2 separate regions of the Homo sapiens genome follow, and region 1 is linked to region 2. The links are contacts of gene promoters, found by promoter capture Hi-C in human tissues and cell types (Jung and others, 2019). All regions are on one chromosome and are shown on one strand. Each heading gives the region's core, a stretch centred on a gene start or on the middle of the fragment in contact. The rest is flanking DNA. Distances are from core to core; before and after follow the strand shown. Region 1 overlaps RIT2 (Ras like without CAAX 2). Region 2 holds the start of SYT4 (synaptotagmin 4).

Region 1 (3,389 bases), core at 360-2,859, 240 kb after region 2:
GCTAAACTGACTTAGCAGGATTCTTGTTGAAGGTAGGACAGAGGATCAGATATCAGGGGAGGAGTCTCTCTAAACTGACTTAGCAGGATTTGACAAGTGGGATATATAGACCCAGCCAGAATGCAAGGACAGGGTCCATGTTTGAGGCCTAGTAGAGAAGAAGGCTTAGGATCTTACCTAAAATTTGCTCAAGGAGAGAGTCTGTTAACAAACACACATGCAGAAGTGAGGAAAAAAGAAAGAGAAGAGCTATTATACACTATTTTTATATAAGTTTGTTGTTTTGCTTCAGAGTTCCTTTTGCTTCCTAATAATGGAAATTCACATGAGGAAATACTTTACAATAGAAATATTACAAATGTTTTACAAAATCATAGGTTTGGAAATAATGTGGAGGGTACAGAATTACAGAAAAAAAGTAATGAAGAAAAGGTGGTCGATAACATAAATTAGGCAAAATAAAAGTAACTGAAATAATTTTAATTTTGAACAGTTAAAGACAAAAATAATGTAATTACATATCTTTATAGTTCGTAAGAACTTCAGAGGGTATCTATTCACTTTAAAGATGAAAAACTTAGAGTCCCAGAGAATGTACAGATTCTTTGGTGAAAGGGACTTGCACATCATTACCAACTGTTCAACCAGAGAAGGTCAAGAGGGATTCTGTAACTGGTTTACATTTTCATTATGTCAAGAGCTTCTTTATTTTTACTCTAATACCATTTTTATTGAAATACACTTAAAATTTGAACATATTTATTTCAGAGAAGTATCTGGCATTATCTGACACATTTTTCCCTCTAGAACTTCGTCTTATTGTTTTCATTTTGTGTGAAATTAAATTAGTCACTCACATAACTAACTTATTCACCATAACCTTTTAAAAGATTGGTGGACTATGTTGGTAAATAACTTATTGATGAATTAGTGAATTTTTATTAAACAAAATGTGTTTTTTTTCTTTCAGCAATGACAATGCAGTTTATTAGTCATCAGTTCCCTGATTATCATGACCCTACTATAGGTAAGTGGAAGCTTCCTTTCTCCGTAAGCTCAAATAAAGACACTGTGACTAAGTGGCTTGAAAATAATAGCAATGTTGATGGAAAATAAATATAATTTACTCTATGACCCAGAACACATACACACAAATCTATCATATGTAACGTACCACAACAGAAGCTTCAAGAGACAGTATTTGTCCTTACTTCTTGCCGGGTAGTCTGGTATTATCTATTCTATTTCTTTCTGGTAAATGGTGGTTGGAATCCATTAAGTGATTTCAGTATCTAATAATGGATATCTATCTGCATTTGAGAAGTTTCTCTGGATAATAAAATTGTACTCTGGATAATAAAATTGATGTGATTATATATGTATTTGCTCACTTCTGTCAGTCTCTGAATTTTCTACTGCAGAGTTATTTAGCCATGTTAATGGTGCATTTGGAACGTTAGATATAGACATAATATTATCCATCATTCTCATCTTGAAGGTTAGGAAACTGACATTTAAGGTATTAAAATATTGCTAGAGCCAAAACACCACCCATGTTTTATTCCTCCTACCCAGTTTTCTTTCTGTCATAATATACTGCAGAAGTTTTGCATTGGGGAACAAGTTTTCTCCCTCATTCAAAGCACAAAAGATGCCTTTAAAATTGCTTTACTCATTCAAAAAACTACTTTAAAGAATTGGCTGGAAATTTTCAAGCAGAGTCCACCGTAGTACTCTTTGTCAGAAACACACTGGTATTAAAAACACATCAAGCATTATTTCCCAGAGAGGGAGGCATATAGCCTCATGGCTGACTGGTTGCCTGGATGGTGAGCTCCTTTAACCACTCCCCATTACTTACCCTATTTGTTCCCTCAGTCTGAATATATCTTATCCTCACCCCACCCATGGGTAAGATCATCTAGTTTCTATTATGCTTATCAAGAAATTTTAATTCAAGATCCTACTTGATATATTAAGTGGTATGCTGTAGATTATACTCCTGTATTCTTTCCCAAAAGGCCCCAGAATATTTGCTTGCATACCATTGCTGACATATATAAAACATACTTATTTTTAAATGTCTGATTATTTATTAAGACCACCTCATCAGTTGAAGTAAATCGATTAGATAGATTTAGTACATGCAATTAGTATGTGATAACTGGAAAGGACTTCCTCAACAAGTTGAGGTTTGTTTCTAAAGAGAAAGAAACTACTTTGTAAAGTTTTAGAAGTGGTTAGCTGCAACTGTTGCTTGGTAATTCTCTAAGTCCATTTTCTAAATATCTTAATTCCAGAATGCCAATAGCTTTGTACCACACACTGTAAGTTACACAAAAGGGACAATCTTTGGAAAAATCTCTGAATCTTTTATCTTGTTGGAAAATTCAATAATATAATATATAATTTATGATATCAGAAATTCACTCAGTTGTTTATTATTTTCTGTTATTCTTTAAGCTTTGTATGTATTGGTGTCTCAAAAACCAGCCTCTTGTTCATCAACCTCTCACGTCTAACAGCTTGAACAGGGCAGTAGATGTGAATAAATCATAAATGACTCCTTCAAACAGGAGAAATGAGAAGTATATGATGATGTCTCCTTTAGTTATCCATGAGACACATCTATCACTTGAGATTAAGATACCTGGACATTCAGTACTAACAGATAGCTACAATCATACCTTTATCTGGCTATAAATAAAACAGCTTTAGAAGAAGAAGTTTGAAAATGGAAACATAGAGTACTTTATTACTTTTGATCCGATTTTCCTATCATTTCATTTTGTGGCCTTTCTAATGGGAATATTGGTTAGCAATTTTCCATTGGTATCCTGCTTGCAGAAGGTAAAAGTCTGAAATAATTTACCTTCCACCTGCTTCTGCTACATAACTGTAACTCAATGTGGCTGACTTAATGACCTCTTAAGAGGAAATTCGTATTAGTACAGTTTGAAAATCATTCAAATTATAAAAGAATAACACCTATCAAGGATACTTTTTTCACAATTGAGATAGGAAATAAATATTTTTCAATCCTTCTCTAGATCTGTTTGTTACCCTACTGACTGAGGCTTTTAAATAGCCTTTTGTCTAAAATAATTGAGAGATATATATGGCTTTATTTTCTCCCTTATATTCAGCTTAGAGTTATTCTTCTTTCAAATATACCTCAGTTCTGAAAACGTAAGATCCCTTTATCACTGAAAAGAGTTAGATATATTATTTGATACCAGTGTTCATCCCAAGGAGTAATTGTTCCCCTTATTTATTGGCAACAATCTCAACATCAGTAACCAATGAATTTATAATAATAGAAAGGAAAAGCAGATTGGTTAATATTAGGTTACTTCACATTACTGTCTTTGTAAGGGTTAAAGCAGAGG
Region 2 (3,305 bases), core at 654-3,153:
TGGTGTTGCTAGAAGCTTGTCTAAAGAGATTGAATAATACCTAAAATGTTATTCATCAAATGAAAATGAGGGAAACTTCAGGCATTTTAATTAATAACAGTTCTTTTCAGTTTGCTTATAAAGCAAGCAATGAAATAGTTACTTAGTCCACAATAGCATTAGCTCTGGGCAAGAGGTAATCTTATCACGATGTTTCCTCAGATGTCAGACAGCAAAGGATGGGGTGGGTTCCGTAGAAATAGAGTTTAAACAATCTGTACAGTTTACAGATAACAACATTATACCATCTGAAGGTAAAATTAATGAGATACTAATTTATAGAACAAACACATAAGGTATTTATGTTTACAACAAATGAGCTTAAACATATGTTAGCAATAACTTAGCTAGAAAATATATACTTTAGTAAACATCACACCATGTATTTGGTCCACCTATGATATGCATCACAAATAAATGCCACTTATTCTTTAACCTAATGGATATTTGTTTCTAGGGACAACCCTACAGGGTGCATGCATGCATAATTAAGGAAATAGGTAATCTGAATAAAGTGAAATGATAAAGACACAACCACAGACTCTGCCAGCAGAAAAATTAAATACAGCAAATTAGTTTGTGTGTTTTCAAAGCATGAAGATATAAAGTTTAAAAAAATCTGTTAGAGGAACACTCCAATGCCAAGTATGTGGGAGCAAATAGAATAGCAAAGAAAAAAGACTGGTTTATAAAATTTTCCATGATGCAAAGAACTGAAGCCAATTTCTCCCCAGACAGAGCCCTGATGCTCTGGGCTGCTGCTAGCCAATGTGCAGGGACCTGTCACTTGCACAGTAGCTTTCTGAGACTCACCCTGTATCCCTTCTCCCACATCCCAGCACACACTGAATGCCATTTCCTTATTAACTCCAGAGCAAAGAAATTCTTTGCAGAGCAATAATTGACAGTTGGAGTTACAGCTTGACTTCTTTCCTTTGAAAAATTGCTAAGCATTTGTTTTAGAAAGGCACACTCTTCAGATTCCAATGAATCAGAATCCGACACCATATTTTTCACAGTTTTTCACCTCCGAGAATATCATCAGTTTAGAAAAAGGAATGCTTTCCTTTGAAATAACCAATGTTACCAATGTTACTTTAGATGTTGGCCTGATTTTGGAAACTATTTTGTACAAACGTACTAGAAGTCAGGCCTTTTAACCATAAATGTCATTTCAGAAGCGCCTTATTATTTGCAAAAGTCATAACTGAGAGTGACTCTGAATATCCAAGGAATTATCCCCATCTGTTCCTAAGTGCTTTAACTGGTCAAATGTCAGATATTAAAGGGAAGAGAGCTGAGAGACCAGGAAAGATCAACTGTTCCAGCAAAATATTTAGACTAATAATTTATTAGAACATAAAGGATTATACTGGGAAAACTATCTTATATCAAATGCATCAATTTGTAGTGAATCTTTTCTAAATGTAATAAGTATCATAGGTATAACATGTCAAAGAAAAAAATTAAAAAGCAAGAAAACATGTTTTTGCATGTTAAAAAGAGTAATTTGAAGCAGAAACTTCTCCTCTGTAAGTTACGTTATTCTGAAAACTCAGAAACATATTTTTATTCATCTAGGTGATCAGGAGATTTTATATTAGGAACTGACAGGGATCAGTTTCGGGGCTTATCTCGGTGAGCCTCTGAGCCCCCACAAAACAGCAAAGCTAATCTCTAGTGGTCCAACAGTTAAAATAATTGATGAGCATGTGTTGAATCCTCAAGAGAGGAGGGAGGAAGCAAGAAGGAAAGCTTGAAGGGAGGAGGGGAGGGGGGCAGGTGCTGATTTCAGCCCTGTAGCGTCAGGATTGCGTCAATTCGGGTTCCAGCCACGTCTGGAGTCTCGGAGACGAGCTTCTCAGAAGAGCCAAAACAGGAACCGAGGTGGCAAATCACTGTGCGAGGGCGAGTGGACCTCCCTCTTTGCCTCCTCCCTGTTCCAGGAGCTGGTGCCCTGGGCTCTGCGCTGTTGTTTTCAGCGCTCCGAAAGCCGGCGCTTGAGATCCAGGCAAGTGAATCCAGCCAGGCAGTTTTCCCTTCAGCACCTCGGACAGAACACGCAGTAAAAAATGGCTCCGATCACCACCAGCCGGGAAGAATTTGGTAAGCAAGTTACTGAACTTATGACTGCGGTTATTCCTTGAATACTCTGGGGTGGACTGTTTATTCATTTATTTTTTGCCCGGTTGTTGAATACAGATTTCCTAGGTAGTTAATTTAAAAGGAAAATGAGAATGGCAGTCAGGCAATTGTGGCTTATTTCTGCAGCTTCTCTCCCTTCCTTGGTATCTCTCTCCCTGAAACTGTCTTCTGTTAGGGAGAATTTACCTTCAGGAAGTTCTTAAATTTTCAGGTACTTCTGTAAATTGCAGCATGTACTGAGTAAAGAAAAAGGGGTCTGTTTTTCCCATGTTGGTTTCATCTATTTTGTAGGTGATTCTTATTTGTAGGTAAATCTATATTTTATTAGGAGAAGATAAATATATCTCTGGTTACATTGGGGTTTGATCTTGGTTAAAAAAAGCAACTTGTCTATTGGGGTTTGGCAATGTATATTTTATTACAGGGCGTACCATATGGGTGTTTTTCTCTGCTATGTTTTTCTTGTATCCTTGAAATATGTTGCTAGTGAAAGACAGAATCATATGGTAGCAGGGTTAAAGAGAGTTTCAAAATGAACTGGCTCAGCCCATTTCATTTCACTGCTGAGCTAACCAAAGCCCAGAGAGATGAGGGAAGTATTATAGGTTGCACAATTAGCTAAAAGCTGCTGGAAACTTGAATTAGGGCTCCAATTTTCCCGTTCAGTTTTCCTTTTCTCACACCAAGTTTTTGGTTTCAGTACATAAAATTAGACGTACTTCATAGAGTAAAAAAGTACTATTTTTAGATCTCAGTATATTCCAAAGGAAAAAGGTCAGAATTTTACTTACACGTATTTTTTAAATCATGAAATTTCATAGAAGGTTGTGAAGAGGAGTGATATCTACAGATGTGTGATAATTGTTATTAAGCTGAGTAAAATAACTATGATCTTGACTTTCAAGATTGTAAGACCTTATCAGTAGAGAATACATAGGGAGTAGATAAGTGTTTCCACGTTATAGAAAATGTTTGCCATTTGACATAACTATTCAATAGGGACAATTTGTGATATTATGTTCATAAATGAATTTCTTTCCCAGCCTTCCATTTGGGTTATTGGGTTTATTTTGGTATGACATTTATTCCCAATTCTTCATTTGAAACCTGAATGATTTTCT

The links. The method cuts DNA at HindIII sites, captures the fragments that hold promoters and counts their contacts. A contact is called where the count stands out against the background at its distance.
Region 1: a fragment that was not itself captured here is called in contact with the fragment with the promoter of SYT4 in region 2 in 3 of the 25 tissues and cell types used here (H1 embryonic stem cells, dorsolateral prefrontal cortex and mesendoderm cells).

What each region holds. Positions count from the first base shown.
Region 1 is chr18:43,031,449-43,034,837 of GRCh38, reverse strand. It overlaps RIT2 (Ras like without CAAX 2), which reads left to right. Exons shown (of 5, transcript NM_002930.4): 2 at 971-1,027. Among named protein-coding and RNA genes, the nearest start is that of RIT2, 83 kb to the left of the region's middle. The HindIII fragment of the contact is 4,988 bases long and covers 1-3,389 here.
Region 2 is chr18:43,276,088-43,279,392 of GRCh38, reverse strand. It overlaps SYT4 (synaptotagmin 4), which reads left to right and starts at 1,903. Exons shown (of 4, transcript NM_020783.4): 1 at 1,903-2,145. The coding sequence starts at 2,112. The HindIII fragment of the contact is 4,332 bases long and covers 1-3,305 here.